Regions from separate parts of the Homo sapiens genome. Here region 1 is linked to region 2. The links are contacts of gene promoters, found by promoter capture Hi-C in human tissues and cell types (Jung and others, 2019). All regions are on one chromosome and are shown on one strand. The core of a region is centred on a gene start or on the middle of the fragment in contact, and the rest is flanking DNA. Distances in the headings are between cores, read along the strand shown.

Region 1 (5,708 bases), core at 2,031-4,530, 220 kb before region 2:
CACATCAGGATCAGGTTGTGTCAGGGCACTTGAAAATCTAAAAGCATGATGTCCAAACACTGTATAATTTTTACAATGTGTTTTCCCCTTTATCTGTGCATGACTAGGAATTTTTATTGCTATTGGCAATAAAAACAATTGTTGCTATTGACTAGGAATCAGTTAGTCACATGGGGCATTATTCGACTGCGTGCCACAAGGTCAAGTGTCATTGATCAGAGGTCATGTTCTGGGTTTCTCCTGTGTTTAAGAATGAACTAGGAAGCCAATTGTCCTTGATTTTCCAGAAGGTACCATTAAGCAGGTGAATTCTATAACACAGAATGCCTTTTTAGGTGGATGATGAAATGATTCAAAACGGATTGCTTTTGGAGGAAGAAAAAAATTTCAGTAGCTTCAATAAAAATCTTGATACTGGAGAGTTTTTTGGAGTAGGCCTTTCACATTCCTTCCTAGGCAGACTGACTCAGCTATCAAGGTAGTAGCCTAAGAAAAGGACACTAAGAAAAGGACCCTAGAAAGGCCAGTTTTACATTTTCTTCTTTTCCTCTGTTAGCTCTGCTGGGTCAAAATTAAGTGAGGCTTCATGAAGGATTTTCAAACACTCATCCATTATCAGGACAATACTACTACTGGGATAAGAAAAATCAGGGATTCTGGAGTGTAGCAGAAAGTTCTTAGGGTGACAGGTGCTTCAAGGGCTAACAATGTCTTCCAATGAATGATGCTTGTTGGACAATTGTAACAGTACTGCTTATGACCAACTCAGAACCTTGAGTAAGTTCAAGGTTCTGAACCTCTTTCTCTCCCTCCAACCCAGCCCTCTTCCCCAGCTCTCAGCAAGATCAGCAAGCACTGGCTGATACAAGCCCTGCTTAAAAGTCTTTTTTTCCCCTACCCTCCTTAAAAGCTTTACTTGCAGACTTGGCACAATTTTGCACATACCTAATGTATACAGTATATGAGAAGACACCTTTTTATTTAGATAATTAAGCTTTTTGCTAATATTGTATATTCTTTGGAGTAAATGTACATTTCTAGTGTGTGTGTGTGTGTGTGTGTGTGTGTGTGTGTGTGTGTGTGTGTGAGTATATTTTTTGCTTTTTGTTTTTGTTTTTCTTGGAGACAAGTCCCAGCTCTGTCGCCCAGGCTGGACTGGAGTGCAGTGGCACAGTCACTGCTCACTGCAGCCTCAACCTCCTGGGCTCAAGTGATCCTCTTGCCTCAGCCTCCCAAGTAGCTGGAACAATAGGCATTTGCTACCATGCCCAGCCAATTAAAAAAAAAAATTTTTTTGTAGAGACAGGATCTCCCTATGTTGCTCAAGCTGGTCTCAAACCCCTGAGCTGAAGCAATCATCCCACCTTGGCCTCCCAAAGTGCCAGGATTACAGGCATGAGCACCCAGCCCATTTCTAAATTTTAAGTTGTTGCAAGGTGCGGGATCCAGAAGGAACTACCTAGGCTCAGCCTTGGCAGCTCACAGTTCCCCAAATAACACCTGGGGAAGCTGAAGATCAAAATTAAATGTAAGCAACTGCATTATGCAGCTTAGTATCACTCAGAACTGTAGTTGGTGCCTGAATAACCTGACTCGAATCTAGCAGGCAGCACCTGTTTGAACCAAGATATATTAGCTGCTATTTTTATTGGCCACCTGCTATGGTCTAGGAACTTAAGAAGCATGATCTTTGATTTTTACAACAGGCCTGAAAAGATGTTTCATATTTTTCCTTAAAAAAGTTTTTTTGTTTGTTTGTTTGAGACAGAGTCTCGCTCTTGTCGCCCGGGCTGGAGTGCAATGGCGTGATCTCGGCTCACTGAACCTCTGCCTTCCGGGTTCAAGTGATTCTCCTGCCTCAGTCTCCCAAGTAGCTGGGATTACAGGTGCCCACCACTATGCCCAGCTAATTTTTGTATTTTTGGTAGAGATAGGGTTTCACCATGTTGGCCAGGCTGGTCTCGAACTCCTGACCTCCAGTGATCCACCTGCCTCAGCCTCCCAAAGTGCTGGGATTACAGGCATGAGCCACCGTGCCTGGCCTAAAAAGTTGTTTTTAAGTACATATTGTTTCCATTTGGTAGATGAAATCCTGAGACTTAGAAAAATCTAAGTGGGCCTAGGTCACAGAGCTAATAAGCTAAGAAATAAGATTTGAACCAAATTCTGCATGACTAAGCCGCTAGTCCATGCCGTTTATGGTCAGTAAAGAGGTGGCAGAGCATCCCGCCTGTTTTTCCTGGAAGGGTGTGCTGTGGGCTGTCTGAGTGGGCCCCTGCATTGGGAGGTGCCCGAGACCCTGGGGAGGGTAAGCTGATCCCACCTGATGTTTATAAGGAATACCTCGATCCCCGAGTCCCTCTAATGTGAAGGAATTCTTTCCTGATCTCTCTCTGATACCCCCCGAGGACACAGTGCCTCTTGTTGGCAAAGCTTATACTAGAATCATCTGTGTGAATGTTGTAACCTTGAATGGACTGCATTGAATGTAAGAGGGTTCTCAGCCGTGCAGTCAAAAGCCCAGTGAGACCATATTGGGGGATAATTTCTCCCTTTCTGAAGAGCCAGGCACAACCAACTTTTCCTGGCAGTCTCTGGCTTTTATTTGTGTCAGTCAGAGACTTCAGTCCTTCGGCACCTTGCCTTGTCCCTTTAATTACGACCCACTCCTGGGCTCAACTGTGTGAATAATTAAGGCCATCTGCCACGGCAGCTCCCAGACCTCACTCAAACTAGGTTTGAACAGGATACTCTCCAAGGTGGGCCTCTCACCTTGACTTATGCCTGCAATCCCAGCACCTTGGGAGGCCTTCCCCTTGCGGACCCTTGCGTGCCTGTGAAAGCCGCATTTATTTGGAGCGTGTGGAGGGAGCTACGGAGATCCTTGGCCTGATTCTCCCATGTTCTGCTGACCCAGTTGGCAGATGCTCTCTGCTTGCATTCAGCGTAGAGGAGGGTCCTGGAATTTCCATGATGTGGACTGAGGTGACTTCACTGGAGCAGATGCTTCTTAGACTGTCAATGTTGAGACACCCTTGGAGGTCTTCCAAGGTGAATGCTGAGAATAGATCTGCCTGTTTTCTAAAAACTCTCCCCACTGTGGTATCTCCACCAGGCTTTTTTATTTCTTTTGTGAAATTAAGATCTCTGAGCAAGGACTAATAGAACAGGTATGGAGAAGAGAAATGTGTCTGCCATATTAGTCTAGATGTCCTCAAATGTCTGGAAGGGTAGATGGAGAACTTACATATTTGTTTATTCTAAGACATCGTAAGAGACACAGAGCACTTATATTTTGTTCTCTTTCTTTCTTTTTTGGAGAGGGAGTCTTGCTCTGTCGCCCAGGCTGTAGTGCAGTGGCATGAGCTCAGCTCACTGCAACCTCCACATTCAGGGTTCAAGCAAGTCTCCTGCCTCAGCCTCCTGAGCAGCTGGGATTACAGGTGTGTGCTACCACGCCCGGCTAATTTTTGTATTTTTTAGTAGAGATGGGATTTCACCATGTTAGCCAGGCTGGTCTCGAACTCCTGACCTCAACAATTAGTGAATAAGGGTGTCTGCTCTGGTATCTGGCTGGCCTGGTTACAAATTCCAGCTTGATCACTTTTTAGCAGTGTGACTATAGGAAAATCATGTAGCCTTTCTGTCTCTCGGTTTTTCCTTAGGAAAATAGGGATGCTGATAATACCTTGCTCAGGGGGTTGTCCAAAGCTGTGTTGTGCAGTATGGCAGCCACCACCATATGGGGCCACCAAACACTTGCAATGTGCTGCTTGGAATTGAGATGCGCTGCAAACGCAAAGTACGTGCTGGATTTCAAAGACTTAGTACAAAAAGAAAAAAGAACGCAAAACATCTCATTAATAATTTTTGTATTGATTCCATATTGAAATATATTGCATCAAATAAAATATATCTTTAACATTGATTTCATCTATTTTATTCTACTTTTGGAAAGTGGCTACGAGGGAATTTAAAATTTCATATGTGGCTCTCATTACGTTTCTGTTGGGCAGTGCTCATCCAGACGAGAGGATGAAATACCTGTCTTAGCACTTCTCACATGCTGATTGATACTGATCAAAATCAGATTGATACTGATTAATGATTAATAAATATAAGTTCTGTTTTACTTTTAAACATCCAACTTTGGCTGGGTGTAGTGGCTCATGCCTGTAATCCCAGCACTTTGGGAGGCTGAGCCGGGCGGATCACTTAAGGTCAGGAGTTCAAGACCAGTCTAGCCAACATGGTGAAACCCCTTCTCTACTGAAAATACCAAAAAAAAAAAAAAAAATTAGCTGGGTGTGGTGGTGTGTGCCTGTAATCCCAGCTACTTGGGAGGCTGAGGCAGGAGAATTGCTTGAACCTGGGACGCAGAGGTTGCAGTAGGCCGAGATCACACCACTGCACTCCAGCCTGGGCAACAGGAGTGAAAAGCTCTGTCTCAAAAAAAAAAAAAAAAAGAAAAAAAATCCAACTTTCTCTTCCACAGAAGCCCACCTTCAACACCAGCCCATGTGGTGTCCAGGTTGCTGTATAAAAGTAGAGGTGATCCTGTTCGAACAGGACGGGGGCGCAGGGAGTGGTAAATAAATACATAAAACAGGCAGAGAATAGGAAAGTCTTTATATCCATAGTTGAAGGAAACTGCTGTGGAATTGCTCCCTCCAGTCTTTGCACGATAAAATTACCAGAACCCCAAAGGTTACAGCAAATTGCCTCTTTGCACCTTCTAATTCACTAATTCACTGTCCATGTTGAATGCTGGGAAAGCTGGAGGCTTTTTGTTTGTTTGTTTTCTTGAGACGGAGTTTCACTCCGTCTGGAATACAATGGTGTAATCTCGGCTCACTGCAACCTCTGCCTCCTGGGTTCCAGCGATTCTCCTGCCTCAGCCTCCCAAGTAGCTGGGATTACAGGCACCTGCCACCATGCCCGGCTAATTTTTGTATTTTTAGTAGCAATGGGGTTTCACCACATTGGCCAGGCTGGTCTTGAACTCCTGACTTCAGGTGATCCGCCCGCCTCGGCCTTCAAAGGGCTGAGATTACAGGCATGAACTACCACGCCCGGCCGCTGGAGCCTTTTAAGTTACTCCCTCCTTCTGCCTTCCTGAGACATCTATTTGGAAATGGACTCAGATAGGGAATGAAGTCTGTCCAACTCCTCGAGCCTCCTGAACCAGCTGCAGGTACTGTTGGAAGTAAGCTGAGTGGACTTCTAGGAGGAGGTGAGACTTGAGGAATTGCCGTTCCCTGTTGGTTCTGCTGAAGTAACTGCAGGTAGCCTGTTCTCCCCTCTGTGTCAGCAACGCTCACTGCCTCAGGCCTTGACAGCCCCTCTGGAGCACCCATGTCCAGCATGTGTTTAGAGGCTCATTTCCTTCAGGGCAAGCAGGTGTGTGCAGCTGAGCTGGCACGTTGCCTTGGAAGTCAGCTGTGCTTCGCTGGGATCATGCCTTGCTCTGCACCTCCTTGGTCCAACCTTATAACCCATAATTCCTGTCTAGACATAAGCCTTGATTATCTGCTAGGGTGAGATTTTCTGATCCCAGATCTTCGTATCCCATAAATTACCTCGACATTTGCCTACTGCCTTTACTATACAAGTGAATTTCAGAGGCAAACAGGTATGTAGGCGAGCTGTTTTGAAGGGCACGGGTCAGGTCCAACTACTCATGAAAAATCCTAACGTTCTTACTTCTA
Region 2 (5,169 bases), core at 616-3,115:
ACCTCCTGCCTGGATCTGCACCCCGCACACATTCCTGACCCCACACATTTCTCATTGCCTGGGTCCTGGCACACATTTCTGACCCTAGCTCAGTGTCTGGGGCCTGGCACACATTTCCGACCCTAGCTCAGTGCCTGGGGCCTGACACACATTTCTGACCCTAGCTCAGTGCCTGGGGCCTGACACACATTTCTGAGTCTAGCTCAGTGCCTGGAACCTGGCACACATTTCTGACCCTAGCTCAGTGCCTGGAACCTGGCGCACATTTCTGACCCTAGCTCAGTGCCTGGGGCCTGACACACATTTCTGACCCTAGCTCAGTGCCTGGGGCCTGACACACATTTCTGAGTCTAGCTCAGTGCCTGAAACCTGGCGCACATTTCTGACCCTAGCTCAGTGCCTGGGACCTGGCACACATTTTTTTTTCTTTTTTTTTTTTTTCACAGAGTCTCGCTCTGTCACCCAGACTGGAGTGCAGTGGCACGAATCTCGGCTCACTGCAACCTCCATTTCCTGGGTTCAAGCAATTCTCCTGCCTCAGCTTCCTGAGTAGCTGGGATTACAAGTGCCCGCCACCACGCCCAGCTAATTTTTGTATTTTTAGTAGAGATGGGGTTTAACTATGTTGGCCAGGCTGGTCTCGAACTCCTGACCTCTTGATTCGCCCACCTCAGCCTCTCAAAGTGCTGGGACTACAAGCGTGAGCAACCGCGCCCGGCCCTGGCTCACATTTCTGACCCTAGGTCATTGTCTGGGCCCTGGAAGGTGCTCAGGGTGATCCATCGCTCAAATCCAAGCCTGTGGAGAGGATGACATTTCATTCCCAGGTTTCTCATGAGCCAAAAAACCTTCATTTCTATAGCGCTATCCTCTTCTATCTACCATGTGAGGGGTCAGGAGCCGACTCATCCCAAGGGTCTAGGAGTCCTGCCATTGACCTTACTGCTTAGGGTCACAAGCTGGCACCCTTCAAAACCACACATTGGGTCTGCCCTCACAGCGGCAGTGTGTTCAACTGGATGGGGAGGTAAGTAGCCCAAGGTCAGACAGTTGGACCTGGGTAGACAATAGACTTGGGGACAGACTTTGGAAGGCACTCCCCTGATTCCCCTGTCTCCATGGGGCCTCAATACTAGAGCCCTCAAGGTTGGTCAGGGAGTGTTTGTGCTTTGACCATGCAAAGGGTGCCAGGTTGTGGCTAGGGATGCCCCCGGCGTTCCTCTCCCTCCTACCTACTCCTCAGCCTCTGCAGGTGCCTGTCATGGCCTCTGTGTCCTTCATTCTGTCCACTCATGTGTTCACTGGGCCCCTCCTTGGTGCCAGGCACCCGCTACTGAGGGATACCAAGCCCCTGCCAGAGAAGCTTGGAGCTGGGTCACAGCAGCAAGGAGGCTGGAGACATCAGTGGCATCAGTGCACTGGTCAGTGAGGCCGCTGTGGGAGGAGGGAGTGGGAGCAGAAGCTAAGAGTGGACTGAAGTCCTGAGGCCAGGAAGTAGTTCAGGGTTTAAGAAGAGGAGAGACAGGCGGCCCGGGGAGGGAGCAGGCTCAGGATGGGCCTCCAGTGCCTCCTCTGGAGCTCACTACCCAGACTACAGCAGCGCAGCGGGCAGCGCCTCAGCTCCTTCCCCTTCTGCTGCCTACAGCCTGGACAGGACCCGGAATCAAACCGCAGGCCCTGGGTCACCGCTGCCGGAAAGAGCCAGTTCCTGTCCGTCCATGCACCCACCCACACAACCTGGGCCCTCCTGGAGGTGCTGGGGGAGACCCAGCCTGAGTGCCTGGAAGTGACTGCGGGAAGGGAGTACAACTGACCACGCCTTTTTTCCGGGGTATAAAAGCGGAGGAGCACGTTCTATTCTGGCAGTGTAGCTGCGAGAACCTTTGCACGCGCACAAACTACGGGGACGATTTCTGATTGATTTTTGGCGCTTTCGATCCACCCTCCTCCCTTCTCATGGGACTTTGGGGACAAAGCGTCCCGACCGCCTCGAGCGCTCGAGCAGGGCGCTATCCAGGAGCCAGGACAGCGTCGGGAACCAGACCATGGCTCCTGGACCCCAAGATCCTTAAGTTCGTCGTCTTCATCGTCGCGGTTCTGCTGCCGGTGAGTCTCCGCCGCGGTCCCTGGCTGGGGAAGAGCGCACCTGGCGCCGGGAGTGGGCAGGGAGAGAGGGGGACACGGTGGGGATGCTTGGCCCGGGTCGCCTGCGGCCGGGCATGTCTGGGCAGGACGAACCCGCCGTCGGAGTCAGGGGAAGAGTGGGGTGCCCGGGCTGGGCAGGAGCGACCGGGCCGCGAGGGAGCAGAGCGCGCGCTCCCCCTGGCTGTCCCGTGCGGCGAGGACCGCACTGAGCTGCCCCAGAGGAAGTTCCAGAATCAGCGGAGGGAGGGAGTCAAGATGGAAACCCCGGAGTGAACCTCAGGAAGCCACAGAGCGGTTGCCTCTTTCGTTCGTTCGTTCGTTCGTTCGTTCATAACGTTAACCCAGGCCGGTCGCGGTGGCTCACGCCTGTAATCCCAGCACGTTGGGAGGCCGAGGCGGGCGGATCACCTGAGGTCAGGAGTTGGAGACCAGCCTAGCCACCATGGTGAAACCCCGTCTCTACTAAAAATACAAAAATTAGCCGGACGTGATGGCGGTCGCCTGTAATCCCAGCTACTCGGGAGGCTGAGGCAGAAGGAGAATCACTTGAATCCGGGAGGCGGAGGTTGCAGTGAGCCGAGATCGCGCCATCGCACTCCAGCCTGGTCAACAAGAGCGAGACTCCGTCTCAAAAAAAAAAAAAAAAAAAAAAAAAAAGTTAGCCAGGCGTGGCAGCCTGCGCCTGTAGTCCCAGCTACTCAGGAGGCTGAGGCAGGAGAACTGCTTGAACCCGGGAGGCAGAGGTTGCAGTGAGCCGAGATTGCACCACTGCACTCCAGCCTGGGCGACAGAGCGAGACTCTGCCTTAACAAAAACAGACAAACAAACAAACAAAATTAACCCTATGTTTACACTGTTACACGTGTTTCTTGGAGATCAGTTTAACAAACAGCCTGTGAAAAAGCTTTCCAACGCTGTTTTTTGTAACTTTCATTTCCTATAGAACCCTGAAAGTGGCAGGAAGCGGTTAACCAAGGTGCTTGCAGTCAGTGTCTTCCACTGCCACCCGTGTGTCCCCTCTGTATCCCATAGGCAGGACCGCGGGATGGCCCCTTCCTTAGGCATAAAAGATGTAAAGTTCTCGTTGTGAGTTGGGTTTGGAAACTGAGATTGGTAGTGGGGTGCACAAGAAGGACATAAAAATAAGATGTGCAGACTGCCAGGACTTTTTCTGAGTGACTGACGTTTCTGCCAACAGTGCTTTCTAAGGTTTCTTACGTAATACCAAAAAACAAAACGGGGAGGATAAAACAAGATTACATGAACCATGAGAGTCTCCATGTTTTCTTTCAACGAAGTAATACTAAATTCAGAACAGCAGTGACATTTTCACCTCTCAAAAATTACACAACTGACTTCTACAATAGTTTATAGTGGGTGGACCTACCTGAGGCAGCTAGAAGAATGGCTGTGTCAGGACAGTGGCCCTGAAGAGAGAATGTGTGGATGACCTGTGTAGACAAGACCAGCAACCTGAATTTCACAGTTTTGGGAATGTGAACTCTATGCGTCCCAAAGGAGGCTTTGATCCCTCCATCAATCTTGCCTTATTAAATGCATTTCAATGCACAGTTGCTTTTTAAAATTTTGGAGCTAGCACAAATCACATTAGATGTTTTATGGCAGTACATTCAGATTGATTTTCTTTTAAACAAGGGTATTGTATTTTACTACATGGGTAAGCCACAGGTTAATTCACTGTTGCCATCTAGAGGCAGCTGGTTATATCCCATCCCGATGGGATATAACCCAAAGCAAATTTGCCTTTGCTAATTCCAACAGCATTGTACTAAATACCCTTGTATGTATCGTGTGTCCACATGTCCATGCGCACCAGCTTATTGGGCAACTCCTTAGAAGTAGAATTTTACTTCTACTTCCGTGGGATAAATCATTTCAGAAGTTTCTTTAGATGTTTACGAATTTTCTTCCAAAAGACCATTGAACTCAGCTTACACTCACACCTAGTTCACACATGTGCCTGTATCCCTACACCCTTGTTACACTTAGCTTTCATTCGTTGCTAGTCTAGGAAGTAAAAGGTGATTCATCACATTGTTATGTACTTTCATTCCTTAATGGTATTAGGAATTTTCAAGGATACGGGAGTTTTGGTAGTGGGAGTAGATGACCGGGGGATCCAGATGAGACAGCAGGGGAGGGTGGCAGGGAAGACTGAATTCCCAGCTGTGAACTTGGAGAACCGTGGTCAGCTGGGGCCAGTCCCTGCCACCTGCCACGCCTGTAAATGGAGATAAGGTCTCCATCTTCAGGCTGTCAGGAGGACATCAGATGAGCCTGGAGCTGAGCTCAGTTCCTGACCCCAGGTCCTGGCTCTGTCAGCGTTGGACTGTTCCAATCTGTGTGACAGAGGCTTCCGCCCCGCCCTTCTCTTTATCAAAGTAGGAATCGAAAAGATCCAACGGCCCAGAATCTCGGACTCTGAGGCTCTCAAGGACTCCTGAGATTGGAGGCTGGGAACAGCTGGGCCCTGCTGTGCTTCCCCTCCAGCTCTGTGACACTGGTGTGGCCCCAGCTCCTGCCTGTAAAGTGAAGAGGAGATAAAAATCTTCAGCAGCCCTGTGTAAACCTCAGAGGGCTGTGTTAGCAGGTGTGGGAGGATGAACCACATCCTCAGGGCTGGTGTCAGTCACTCCGGACTGGATCCCCAGGGCACATGTCCTCCACCCAGCAGAGGCTGCACCTGTTCCTACTTGCACCTCCATACCAGGCTCCCTGGCCTTGGGGCAGAAGCTTCTGAAGACTGGGGTGGAGCACCATGTGGAGGGGCCATCGAGGAACAGAGGAGCCAGAGTTCAAGTGAGGACAGCGATGGCACTGCAGGGCCACAGCCTGGTTTACCTGCCAAGTTTCCAGTTGTGCTTCTGGTGGGTGTCCGGCCCGGGTTGGAGTTTGAAGATGAGCAGGAAAGGTCTCCATCCAGGTGGCTGCAGATGGCTGCTCACCCAGCCCCTACTGAGAGGCCACGGTCCCAGTTCTGGTTCTCTGTCCTGTATCCAGGAG

What was found. Contacts are between HindIII fragments. The study calls those that stand out against the background at their distance.
Region 1: a fragment that was not itself captured here is called in contact with the fragment with the promoter of TNFRSF10D in region 2 in 1 of the 25 tissues and cell types used here (spleen).

Annotation. Positions count from the first base shown.
Region 1 is chr8:23,384,003-23,389,710 of GRCh38, reverse strand. All of the region lies in intron 1 of LOXL2 (lysyl oxidase like 2), which reads left to right. Among named protein-coding and RNA genes, the nearest start is that of LOXL2, 17 kb to the left of the region's middle. The HindIII fragment of the contact is 3,132 bases long and covers 1,715-4,846 here.
Region 2 is chr8:23,160,723-23,165,891 of GRCh38, reverse strand. TNFRSF10D (TNF receptor superfamily member 10d) reads left to right here and starts at 1,865. Exons shown (of 9, transcript NM_003840.5): 1 at 1,865-2,106. The coding sequence starts at 1,957. RefSeq lists an enhancer at 2,008-2,127. The HindIII fragment of the contact is 7,003 bases long and covers 1-3,974 here.